Linked DNA regions of Homo sapiens: region 1 is linked to region 2. The links are contacts of gene promoters, found by promoter capture Hi-C in human tissues and cell types (Jung and others, 2019). All regions are on one chromosome and are shown on one strand. The core of a region is centred on a gene start or on the middle of the fragment in contact, and the rest is flanking DNA. Distances in the headings are between cores, read along the strand shown. Region 1 overlaps DR1 (down-regulator of transcription 1). Region 2 holds the start of GCLM (glutamate-cysteine ligase modifier subunit).

Evidence for each region. The method cuts DNA at HindIII sites, captures the fragments that hold promoters and counts their contacts. A contact is called where the count stands out against the background at its distance.
Region 1: a contact is called between a fragment that was not itself captured here and the fragment with the promoter of GCLM in region 2, in 1 of the 25 tissues and cell types used here (thymus).

Annotation. Positions count from the first base shown.
Region 1 is chr1:93,361,208-93,367,434 of GRCh38, forward strand. DR1 (down-regulator of transcription 1) reads left to right here. Exons shown (of 3, transcript NM_001938.3): 3 at 1-6,227. Among named protein-coding and RNA genes, the nearest start is that of DR1, 18 kb to the left of the region's middle. The HindIII fragment of the contact is 6,300 bases long and covers 1-5,345 here.
Region 2 is chr1:93,907,403-93,914,448 of GRCh38, forward strand. It overlaps GCLM (glutamate-cysteine ligase modifier subunit), which reads right to left and starts at 2,028. Exons shown (of 7, transcript NM_002061.4): 1 at 1,636-2,028. The coding sequence starts at 1,761. It overlaps LOC124904221 (a long non-coding RNA gene), which reads left to right and starts at 2,190. Exons shown (of 2, transcript XR_007066230.1): 1 at 2,190-2,752. RefSeq lists silencers at 1,442-1,491, 1,542-1,901, 2,112-2,351 and an enhancer at 2,392-2,551. The HindIII fragment of the contact is 8,708 bases long and covers 1-4,230 here.

The DNA.
Region 1 (6,227 bases), core at 946-3,445, 550 kb before region 2:
TAGGAAGGAGTATGTTTAATAGTATTTGTATAAATTTGGTGGTTATGTTTTTTTATTTTGTTTCTGTTTTGTGTAGAGGTAAAAACTATAGTTTTATTACAGCATAATTCATTTTGAGCTCCACTATGACATTTCAAAGACTGCCCAGTTTGGAAGTCTGTCATGATTTTTACTCTTTCACTCCAATTCAGTAATTGTTGATAGTATTACTTACCTAGTCCATCCATACTCATATTATTCAAATATATAGGTGGTACTTTTGAAACAATTACATTGGTTCTCTTGGTTTAACTGAGGTTTATGAATATTCAAACCTTTGCTGGGGGAAAGAAATGAAAGTTAATGAGCATGCTTGCTATGAGAGAGGGATTTTTAATTTAACTTGTAGTTATAGTTTACTTATTGTTTTTAGAATTACTTTTACATTTTCCCAACTAGATGGCCTAGAGTCCAACATTACCTTTTGAGATGACATTATTGTCTCCATAATTGAGTGATAGCTTTAAAAAAAAGATTAGTTTTGCTTAAGAAGTTATGTTACAACTGATCAGCCCTATATGAATTAACTGATCAGCCCTATATGAAACATAAGTTGTGTTATAACTTATCAGCCGTATATGGAACATAAATAGTTTCTACCTGCTTGTTAGAGAAGCTTTAATTTGGTTCTAATAAATACAGTATGGTAGTGTTTATAGGAATCCAGGATGTTGAAGAAATGGCATAATGTCTATATTTTGGAAACAGAAAGGAAAAGTCACTTAAGATAGTATTAAGTAATTAAATTCCTATGTCAGTTGCCAAATCTTTTAAACTTATGTATTCACCAAGCCCAAAAATAGATTGTGGCTCCCAGGATTCCAATTTTAATTGGAGAGCTAAGTAAGTAAAGTTTTATAACTGTTAGGTTTCTTAATGATCATATTTTGCAGTTTTAGTAAAAGGGAAATATTGTTATACATTTATTAAATATACTTCCCCCATGAAGTGAAAAGGTTAATTTTGCTGAATGTTTTAAGTTGAAGTTACTTCATGGATGTCATACCCATGAAGTGCATTTGGATGAGATAGAAGAAATTGTTTTTTAAAAAGTTTAAGTACCAAAGGTAGTCTAGTCTAGAACGATAAGTTAATACGTGTTGGCTTTTCTAATTTGTACTGTAACATCCTTATACTTTCTATTTTAAGTATATCTGTTTCTTAAGTAAACAACTTAGATATTTTCCACACCTTTTTTTTTTTTTCTGATGCAGAGTTCAGGTTAATATTTTACTGCATCTGATAATGTATTATACGTTTGAAGCCTAGTGACTTTTCATTTTGACATTCTTGTGATTTCATATGCTGTATTCTTCAAGCAATAAAATTGTGATGTGTTTTATAAATGGTTTTTATATTTAATGTTCTATAGAGAGATTTCTATTATTACCATTTTTACTATTTTCAAGAATCTTAGGCCCAAAAGACATTTTGGTCATTTGGTATGTAGTACCTGCCTTTTGTTTTTGTTTACTGTTATTTCAAAAAATGTGGTTTTACTTGTATTTTTATAATTTACAGTCCTAAGATCGAGGCATAACAAAGCTTACTTATGCAATATTTTATTTTTAGGTTTTTTCTTTTTTTTTTTTTTTTTTTTTTTTTTTTAGCATTTAAGAGTCACTATTATGTTTTGCCAGTTAAAATTTTTTAAATCTTTTGAAGAGAGAAACAAAATCTTCAGCGTTCTTGAGAAATAAAATTATTGTTCAGTAAGTATTTTTCCATCCCCTTGAATATATGTTATATATTCTTTTTCGGCAGATTATCAGATTAGTAAGTGTTTAAAAGGCATCAGTTTTTAAAACTGCATATACCACACACACACAAAACAGTACACAAATAAAGGTTTTCACAAATTAAACAAACTCACATACTAGTCTTCAGATCAAAACACAGAGCATTATGTGTACCCCAGAAGCCCTCCTCTTTCCCCATCTTAACACTGTCTTCTTTCTTGCTGAAAGTTACTATCCTGACTTCTAAAATCATAGATTAGTTTTGCCTGTTTTTTATTTTATGTAAATGTAATCATACATAATACACTTTTTTTCATTCATCATTTTTGTGAATATTTTAGTTTCTTGTTGCCACTGTAACAAACTACCACAAACTTAGTGACTTAAAACAACACAGATTTATTCTTTTATAGTCCTGGAGATCAGAAGTCCAAAAATCAGTTTCATTAGGCCTAAATCAAAGTATCAGCAGGGTTGGCTCTTTATTGAGGTTGTGAGGGAGAATGTTTTCTTCCCTTTTTTGGCTTCCAGTGACGGCCTGTATTTATGGGCTTGTGACCCCTTCCTCTCTATGATCAAAGCTTGCTTTTGTCATTATATCATCTTCTCTTCTGTAGTCAGATCTTTCCCTGCCTCTAAGTTTAGGGCTCACCTGCATAAAGCAGGGATAATCCCCCTATCTCAAGATCCTTAATTTAATCACATCTGCAGAATCTCTTTTGCCATATAAGTGACATTCACAGGTTCCAGGGATTCATACGCTGGCTATCTTTGGAGGCCGTTATTCAACCTGCCAAAGTGAGATCCATTCTTATTGTTGCATGTATTTGTAGTTCATTCATTCTCATTGCTGTATAGTCTTCCGTTTGTTTATCCATTTTTCATTACATCCAAAAGTTATTCATTCTCCCATTAATAGTCTTTTGAGAATTTTTCAATTCTGAGCTATTATGAATAGTACTGTGTAGAACATTCTTATACATGTCTTTTGGTGAGTGTATACATTTCCATTGAGTATAAACCTAAGAATGGAATTGCCAGGTTGTAGGGTGTGTATATTTTCAGTTTTAGTATTTACTGTCAAACAGTTTTCCAAAGTGACTGTAAGAAGGCACCATTTTAATGTGTAGCATAAAAATGAATTACGCTAATGATCTTAGTGGGTTGAATTTCTCGAAACACCTAAATTGTACCAAATGAGTTATATTGCAGCAGGTATGTTGTTAATTTCATATAACAGGAAAATAAGAGCAAAAGTAATTGCCCTTATTAACTGACACATTAGTATTACATACTCATTAGGTTATTGCTCCTTAGAAAAAATGCAAATTTTAAGTAATCGTAAGTAGTATGTTGAATTAGTATGTTGTGGGAAAATCTGTGATTTAATTTTTTAATTGAATTTTAAATTTTGGGTTATAACCTCATTAAAATGCATGATATTTCCTTATATAGGTTTCTAAATTATGTCTGTCCAACTCATCTATATCCAAATGGCCATTAGGAAGAATTATCCAATTCAGATGGCATAGGCACTGCCTTCCAATTTCTTCATTTGTATTTTTTTGTTGCTGTTTTCTTTTTTGCCTCTGTCCCCAACAATTTGACCACAAGTCCTACCCCACCTCCTCTGTTTTTCACCATCCCCCAGGATATAAAGTGTCATGGTTAGGATCGGCCAGGGTGAAGAGAATGATAACATAAGTAGCCTCCTTTCACCTAAAGTATTACCACTGGTTCTTATCCTATTTCCTCAAAATAAATGAGAAGAGAAAGTAAGGAATAAGAGGAAGAAACTTTTTTTTTTTTTTTAAAGAAACAGGGTCTCACTATGTTTCCTTTTTCTTTTTTCTTTTCTTTTCTTTCTTTTTTTTTTTTTTTTTTTTGAGACAGAGTCTTGCTCTGTCACCCAGGCTGGAATGCAGTGGCGCGATCTCGGCTCACTGCAAGCTCCGCCTCCCGGGTTCACGCCATTCTCCTGCCTCAGCCTCCTGAGTAGCTGGGACTACAGGTGCCCGCTAGCACGCCCAGCTAATTTTTTTTGTTTTTTTTTAGTAGAGACAGGGTTTCACCGTGTTAGCCAGGATGGTCTCGATCTCCTGACCTCGTGATCCACCCGCCTTGGCCTCCCAAAGTGCTGGGATTACAGGCGTGAGCCACTGCGCCCGGCCTATGTTTCTTAATATAGATTGCAGTGGCTAGATTACAGTGACTATTCACAGGCATAATCATAATGCACCATAGCCTCAAACTCCTGGGCTCAAGCAATCCAAAAGGAGGAAACTTTTAACTTATGATCAGTTTCTACCATAAATCAAGCAACTTAGAAAAACCTTAGAACAGGGTTTCTCAAACCAAGCATTGTTAGTATTTGGGGTTGGTTAAGTCTTTGTTTGTGGGAGCCTATCCTGTGCATTGTAGGATTTCTAGCAGCATAATTGGCTTATGCCCACTTGATGTCATTAGCACCACTCCCCACCCTACTTCCAGTTGTGACAACCCAAAAATGTCTCCAGACATAGCCAACTGTCCCTGGGTGTTGCGAGTATAGGAGGCAAAATTGCACCCTGTTGAAAACCACCACCTTAGATCATCTAGGTTTTACTTTTAGGATAAGACACTTGAGGGAAAGGCTGTGAAACTGAACCTCTGTTAGAAGCAACACACAGTATCACTGCAAAAAGACTAAAAGAAATAGGTGATTTGGAAAGAGGAGGCCCAGGATTAAAATATGTTTCCAAGAAAGTCAAATCTTACAGGAGACTCTTGACTTCACATCTGCTGATCCCTTTACCCGATAGGACCTAGAGCAGCCATTATAAATCTCTGTACCTGCTTGCTGCTTTTCTACCTCATTGTTAGCCACACCCAGTTTGAAACAGATGAGGTATGCTATTTCATAACTAGTACATCTTTTAATAAGCATTTTTTATTGTGATTAAATATGCATATCGTAAAATTCACCACTTTAACCAGTTTTAAGTGTTCAATTCTGTGGCATTAAGTATATTCATACTATTGTGCAACCACCACCACCATCCGTCTACAGAACTCTTCATCTTCCCAAACTGAAATTATGTATTCATTAAACAATAACCACCCATTACCTCCTCTCTCCTCAGCCTCTGGTAACCAGCATTCAGTCTCTATGAATTGACTACTCTGGATATCTAAATGGATTCATTCTTATTTCATTTACCATAATGTCTTCAAAGTTCATTCATGTTGTAGCATGTATTAGAATTTCTTTCCTCTTAAAGGCCAAATATGCCGTAGTATGTAAATACCGTATTTTGTTTATCAGTTCATCCATTAATGGACACTGGGTTGCTTCTGCTTTTTGGCTATTGTGAATAATGCTTCTGTGAACGTGGGTATACAAATAACTGTTTGAGTCCTAATAGGCTTGTTATTTTTGAGTGCACAGATCTGTATATTCGCAATTGAAATAGGGAAAGTCTTTATATTCATATAAAGATAATTTATAATACAATAAGTCCTCAATGTTGTTGATAGGTTCTGGGAAACTGCGAGTTTAAGAAAAACAACATATAATGAAATCAATTTTACCATAGGTGAACTGATATAAATAAGAGTTAAGTCCCTATGGCATATATTTCTGGTTACAAAAACACTACCAAATTTCTAATAAAGACCCAAAACACTTCTAAAATTAAACATTGAGATTAATATGAGCTTTATATACATTTAAAAAGGATAAAAACAAGTAAGAATTGGCTGGACATGGTGGCTTACGCCTGTAATCTCAACACTGGGAAGTCGAGGTGGGCAGATGGCTTGACCTCAGGAGTTCGGAACCAGCCTGGGTAATATGGTGAAACCCGTCTCTACAGAAAAATTCAAAAATTAGCCAGAGGTGGTGGCTTGCACCTGTAGTCCCAGCTACTCGGGAGCCTGATGTGGGAGGATCCCTTGAGCCTGGGAGGTCGAGGCTGCAGTGAGCCATGATCACGCTACTGCACTCCAGTCTGGGCAACAGAGCAAAATCCTATCTCAAAAAAAATATATATATTATCCAGCCCCAAATGTTTATGGGGTTGTTATTGATAAACCCTGCATTAAACAATCCCACAGTCGGTGCTGCGGTGAGCCGTGATGGTACCACTGCATTCCAGCCTGGGTGACAGAATGAGACCCTGTCTCAAAAAAAAAAAAAAAAAGTAAAAATTATTTACCCAATATTTGGCGAATCAGTGAGTGACAGCAGTTGTAGTGCTAGTGGGTTAAATCAAGGAATAACTGTTGGGAAGTGAAAATTTTAAGGAGCACCTCCTACCACCATGCAGTTCAAAAACAAAAAATAAGAAATAAAGTGGGCTTGCTGAGTGCTTTCATACTGCATCATTTATTGTGCATTTGTATGATTATTATATACTTTACAAATTTTCGTTTTACAGTAATTTGTATTCATTCGTTTTTCAACCTGCT
Region 2 (7,046 bases), core at 778-3,277:
AAGAAAAAATCAGAATATACGGTATAAGGGCTAATATCTTTTTGTGAAACCTGTTTCAGATATACTGATTATACAACTATTAACTGGATTGCAAAGTAAAATGTACTTCTTACTGTGTTTGCAGTCAGAAACTCTTTTGAGTCACTACTTTAGAGTATGCTATTGTGAGATAGGTAAAATTTCACCCAATAATATCAATATACGTGCAAAATTCTGTATTGAACTACCACCAACAGTACTGGAAGAAATTAAGAGTCTATGTACCGAATACAGAAATATTTATCTGTGGGAGAAACAGCCAAAGTAGGTGGTTTAAATAAAACAAAACATACACACTGAGCTGGAACGTGAACACAGAATATGGTACAGACTCAGATTCCTACTAAAGTTACAAGCAAGAGTTCTCATCTCTTGATGGGCACTGACCCCAACAACAGGCCTGGGCACAGGTCCAGCACTTAACTCAGAGGGATGCCGTGTGCTGCTGCATGGTCTGTTACCAACATCTCATAGAAGAGAGCAGAAACCACTTAGGAACACAGCTGATTTAGGAAGGTTTTTCTAAACACACATAGTTTAGGAAGGTTTTTCTCTTAATTAAGATTTATCTTTCTGATGGAACCAGATGACAGGGAGATAGATGCCTGCATGGTGAGCGTTTTCATATATTACCTCTTAATTCTCACAACAACCTGATGAGGAAGGTGTTATTATCCAACTTTAAAGTAATTTTCCAAAGTCATATAGCTCCTAAATCTAAAGATTTTGTTATTTTTTAAATACTAAAATTGTCCCATACCACCAATATGCACAATGTGCAGTGGATGACTATCCGCTCAGAAATGGCCAACAAATAGGTAACAAGTTTGTAATTCCAGATTAATCTCTGTCACCTCCAACTAGTGACTAGTCTTTTTATTTTCCAGTTTTTACAAAACTTTAATTTTTGAATTGATAGATTATATTTGTACATATTTATGGGGCACATGTGATATTCTGTTACATGCATAGAATGTACAATGATATTGTTACATGCATAGAATGTGTACTGATAAAGCATACATAGACGCACAGATAAGTGCATAAAATGTGTAATGACTAAAGTCAGGGTATTTAGGGTATTCCAAAGCCAAAATTGAGTGCTTACTCATTTGCCTCACTGCAATAGAGAGTCTAATGTCAACATTCTAAAAGTTAGGTGTACTATGAATACTACTTCATCTGAATGCACCAAAGGATAATCTCCGAAAATATTCCTTTACCTGGACAGGGTGGGGGAAGGAAGCGAGAGATGTGGAGAGAGACGGAGCGACGTCCTGGCCCTCTGTGACCTCCGTGCCAGGAAGAGGGACCCAGGATGTTTGAGAGTTTTGCTACCAGCCTTAAGCACCGAGAGAGGTGTCACTCAGTGCGCAGCTGCACCGGCTAAGTTTTTTAGACGCGTTGCCCTCGGCAGCGGGTTTGGACCCAAGGTCGCGTCGACACTGGCCTCAGCATCTGACCGCGGGCGGAGCCCAGGTGCGCGCGAGGCCCTGCCACCCTCCCTCGCCCGCGGGCGCTTCTCCCTTGCCGGAACCGCCCGGCCCCGCCCGAGGCCTGCCCCGGGAGCCCCGCGGCGAGTGTCGCCACGCTCACCTCCTCGCTGTGCGTGGACGGGCACTTCTTCCGCAGGCGGCCCCAGTTCAGCAGGTTCCCCGTCTGCAGGTGCAGGGTGCGGGCCCGCGCCAGGAGCGCCTTGGCCGCGCGGCTGTCGGTGCCCATGGCAGCGGCCGCCCAGGGGCCGCGCAGCGAAGGGGCTGCGGGCGGGCGGGCAGGCAGGCGGCCGCCCCACAGGACGCGGTGCCCGAGGCCCGAGAGAGACCCGAGAGGGAGCGCGAGGCTGCCGGCGCCGCGCGGCTGGAGCCTGGTCTGCGCTCGGGCCCGAGGGAGGCCGGACGGCGGCTGGGCGGCGGCGGGAAAGGAAGGCACCGGTGGCTGCGGCTCCGGCTCCGGCTACTGCGGCCGCAGCGGGAGAGCTGATTCCAAACTGAGGGAGCTGTTTCCTGGAAGACAATGACTAAGCAGAAATCGTAGCCGAGAAAGTGCTTCGTAACCGTTACTCATCCCGCGGCGGGGCAGGGGCGGGGCGCGAATGGGCTGCGGGACGCCGGCCCGCAAGTGACTGGCCCTTGGCCTGCGGCGGGCGTGGCGACGGGTGGTGCGCGGCGGGCGCGCGGGTCGAGAGAGCGTGGCGGCGCGGCCCGGAGCGCAGCGCGCGGCAGGGCTCCCCCTGGCGGTCAGAGGACAGCGCGAGGCAGACACCGCCTCCGCCTGGTGAGGTAGACACCGCCTCCGCCTGGTGAGGTCTCCCGGCGTTCAGGTCGCGGCTCCGCCCACGGCCGCCCCAGGGTGGGCTTCCTACACGTCTCTTTAAAGGGCAGCCTGAGCGGCCACCGGGACTCGGAAATGCTACGTAGTTTTCGTTCTCAGAAGCAGCTGTTTATGCGCAAGCGCCCCCTTCTTCTTTTCGCTTTGCTACCTTCAAGGACCTTCTCCCAAACTGCTAATTTTTCTTCATCCGTTAAAGGTCTATTGATTCACATTATTTGCTGGCAGTGTGTGAAGTCAACGAACAAGACTGAGTCTTTGCCCTTGAGACGCGTACACTCTACCCAGAGACAAGTTCTAAGCACAGGAAACAAGTAATTTTATAAGAACATCATAGGGCAGTTATTCTCCAGATGAATTCAGATTAAAGAGGACACTTGAGCCGGTGAGATCACAGAAAGCTTTTATCACCCACCCCTTTAGAGGTGGTCGAGATTATTTACCCCTATTAAATTTCACGTGTGGTGGTGGACTCGGTATAAACATCAAATTGAACATGTATTGAGCTTTCCTCAACAATCTTTCACATTCGTTGAGGTGAATCAGATTATTAAAGGCAAAATGAGATTCTCATTATAAGCGGGGACAATATAGCTATTGAAAAGAGAGATGAACCAGTTGGTAAAATGGTAAGAATTAGGGGAGGGATGGGAAAAAAGATCTTTCTAGGAAGTTAGAAATTGAGCCTGATGTTGAGTAAATATTTGTTGGCTGAATGAATGATGGTAAGAGTTCATTGAACGAGCTTGCGCTGCTTTTTTTTTTTTTTTTTGGATATTGATTTTTTATTATAGTGAAAGAGCTACCCACAAGCACCACCACTACTTAAACACATTTTGATGCACTGTAACATACAATTAACATTTGTTGTAAATAATTCCAACATATACAAAAATAGCAAGAATACTATAATGAAACCCGATATAACTATCTTCTGAACTCAAGATTGAATAAGATTTGTCTATACTTTTTGTTTTATAATACTTTAAGTTCTAGGGTACATGTGCACAATGTGCAGGTTTGTTACATATGTATACAAGTGCCATGTTGGTTTGCTGCACCCATTAATTCGTTATTTACATTAGGTATTTCTCCTAATGCTATCCCTCCGCCAACCCCCCACCCCATGACAGGCCCCAGTGTGTGATGTTTCCCACCCTGTGTCCAAGTGTTCTCATGGTTCAATTCCCACCTATGAGTGAGAACATGCAGCGTTTGGTTTTCTGTCCTTGCGACAATTTGCTCAGAATGATGGTTTCCAGCTTCATCCATTCCCTACAAAGGACATGAACTCATCCTTTTTGATGGCTGCATAGTATTCCATGGTGTGTATGTGCCACATTTTCTTAATCCAGTCTATCATTGATGGACATTTGGGTTGGTTCCAAGTCTTTGCTATTGTGAATAGTGCCAAAATAAACATACCTGTGCATGTGTCTTTATAGTAGCATGATTTATAATCCTTTGGGTATATACCCAGTAATGAGATCGCTAGGTCAAATGGTATTTCTAGTTCTAGGCCCTTGAGGAGTCACCACACTGTCTTCCACAATGTTGAACTAGTTTACACTACCACTGACAGTGTAAAAGTGTTCCTAGTTCTCCACATCCTCTCCAGCACCTGTTGTTTCCTGACTTTTTAATGATTGCCATTCTAACTGGTGTGAGATGGTATCTCATTATGGTTTTGATTTGCATTTCTCTGATGACCAGTGATGATAAGCATTTTTTCATGTGTCTGTTGGCTGCATAAATGTCTTCTTTTGAAAAGTGTCTGTTCATATACTTTGCCCACTTTTTGATGGGGTTGTTTGATTTTTTCTTGTAAATTTAAGTTCTTTGTAGATTCTGGATATTAGCCCTTTGTCAGATGGGTAGATTGCAAAAATTTTCTCCCATTCTGTAGGTTGCCTGTTCACTCTGATGGTAGTTTCTTTTGCTGTGCAGAAGCTCTTTAGTTTAATTAGATCCCATTTGTCTATTTTGGCTTTTGTTGCCATTGCTTTTGGTGTTTTAGTCATGAAGTCCTTGCCCATGCCTATGTCCTGAGTGGTATTTCCTAGGTTTTCTTCTAGGGTTTTTATGGTTTTAGGTATAACATTTAAGTCTTTAATCCATCTTGAATTAATTTTTGTATAAGGTGTAAGGAAGGGATCCAGTTTCAGCTTTCTACATATGGCTAGCCAATTTCCCCAGCACCATTTATTAAATAGGGAATCCTTTCCCCATTTCTTGTTTTTGTCAGGTTTGTCAAAGATCAGATGGTTGTAGATGTGTGGTGTTATTTCTGAGGCCTCTATTCTGTTCCATTGGTCTGTATCTCTCTTTTGTACCATGCTGTTTTGGTTACTGTAGCCTTGTAGTATGGTTTGAAGTCAGGTAGCATGATGCCTCCAGCTTTGTTCTTTTTGCTTAGGATTGTCTTGGCAATGCAGGCTCTTTTTTGGTTCCATATGAACTTTAAAGTAGTTTTTTCCCATTCTGTGAAGAAAGTCATTGGTAGCTTGATGGGGATGGCATTGAATCTATAAATTACCTTGGGCAGTATGGCCATTTTCACACTATTGTTTCTTCCTATCCATGAGCATGGAATGTTCTTCCGTTTGTTTGTGTCCTCTTTTATTTTGTTGAGCAGTGGTTTGTAGTTCTCCTTGAAGAGGTCCGTCTCATCCCTTGTAAGATGGATTCCTAGGTATTTTATTCTTTTCAAAGCAATTGTGAATGGCAGTTCTCTCATGATTTGGCTCTCTGTTTGTCTGTTATTGGTGTAGAGGAATGCTTGTGATTTTTGCACATTGAATTTGTATCCTGAGACTTTGCTGAAGTTGCTTATCAGCTTAAGGAGATTTTGGGCTGAGATGATGGGGTTTTCTAAATATACAATCATGTCATCTGCAAACAGGGACAATTTGACTTCCTCTTTTCCTATCTGAATACCCTTTATTTCTTTCTCTTGCCTGATTGCCCTGGCCAGAACTTCCAACACTATGTGGAATAGGAGTGTTGAGAGAGGGCATCCCTGTCTTGTGCCAGTTTTCAAAGGGAATGCTTCCAGTTTTTGCCCATTCAGTATGATATTGGCTGTGGGTTTGTCATAAATAGCTCTTATTATTTTGAGATACATTCCACGAATACCGAGTTTATTGAGAGTTTTTAGCATGAAGGGCTGTTGAATTTTGTCAAAGGCCTTTTCTGCATCTATTGAGATAATCATGTGGTTTTTGTCTTTCGTTCTGTTTATGTGATGGATTACTTTTATTGATTTGCGTATGTTGAACCAGCCTTGCATCCCAGGGATGAAGCCAACTTGATCGTGGTGGATAAGCTTTTTGATGTGCTACTGGATTCAGTTTGCCAGTATTTTATTGAGGATTTTCACATTGATGTTCATCAGGGATATTGGTATAAAATTCTCTTTTTTGTGTGTGTCTTTGCCAGGCTTTGGTATTAGGATGATGCTGGCTTCATAAAATGAGTTAGGAAGGATTCCCTCTTTTTCTATTGATTGGAATAGTTTCAGAAGGAATGGTACCAGCTCCTCTTTGTACCTCTGGTAGAATTTGGCTGTGAATCTGTCTGGTCCTGGACTTTTTTTGGTTGGTAGGCTATTAATTATTGCCTCAATTTCAGAACCTGTTATTGGTCTATTCAGGTGTTTATAGTATTCTCTGATGGTAGTTTGTATTTTCTGTGGGATCAGTGGTGATATCCCCTTTATCATTTTTTATTGCATCTATTTTATTCTTCTCTCTTTTCTTCTTTATTAGTCTTGCTAGTAGTCTATTTTGTTGATCTTTTCAGAAAACCGGCTCCTGGATTCATTGACTTTTTGAAGAGTTTTTTGTGTCTCTATCTCCTTCAGTCCTGCTCTGATCTGTGTTATTTCTTGTCTTCTGCTGTCTTTTGAATTTGTTTGCTCTTGTTTTTCTAGTTCTTTTAATTGTGATGTTAGGGCATCAATTTTAGATCTTTCCTGCTTTCTCTTGTGGGCATTTAGTGCTATAAATTTCCCTCTACACGCTGCTTTAAATGTGTCCCAGAGATTCTGGTACATTGTGTCTTTGTTCTCATTGGTTTCAAAGAACAACTTTATTTCTGCCTTCATTTCCTCACTTACCCAGTAGTCATTCGGAGCAGGTTGTTCAGTTTCCATGTAGTTGTGCAGTTTTGAGTGAGTTTCTTAATCCTGAGTTCTAATTTGATTGCACTGTGGTCTGAGATAGAGTTTGTTGTGATTTCTGTTCTTTTACATTTGCTGAGGAGTGTTTTACTTCCAATTACGTCGTCAGTTTAAGAATAAGTGTGATGTGCTGAGAAGAATGTATATTCTGTTGATTTGGGGTGGAGAGTCCTGTAGATGTCTATTAGGTCCACTTGGTCCAGAGCTGAGTTCAATTCCTGGATATCCTTGTTAATTTTTTGTCTCGTTGATCCAATATTGACAGTCGGGTGTTAAAGTCTCCCATTGTTATTGTGTGGGAGTCTAAGTCTCTTTGTATTGGCGCTCCTGTATTGGGTGCATATATATTTAGAATAGTTAGCTCTTCTTGTTGAATTGATCCCTTTACCACTATGTAATGGCCTTCTTTGTCTCTTTTGATCTTTGTTGGTTTAAAGTCTGTTTTATCAGAGACTAGGATTGCAACCCCTGCTTTTTTTTGCTTTCCATTTGCTTGGTA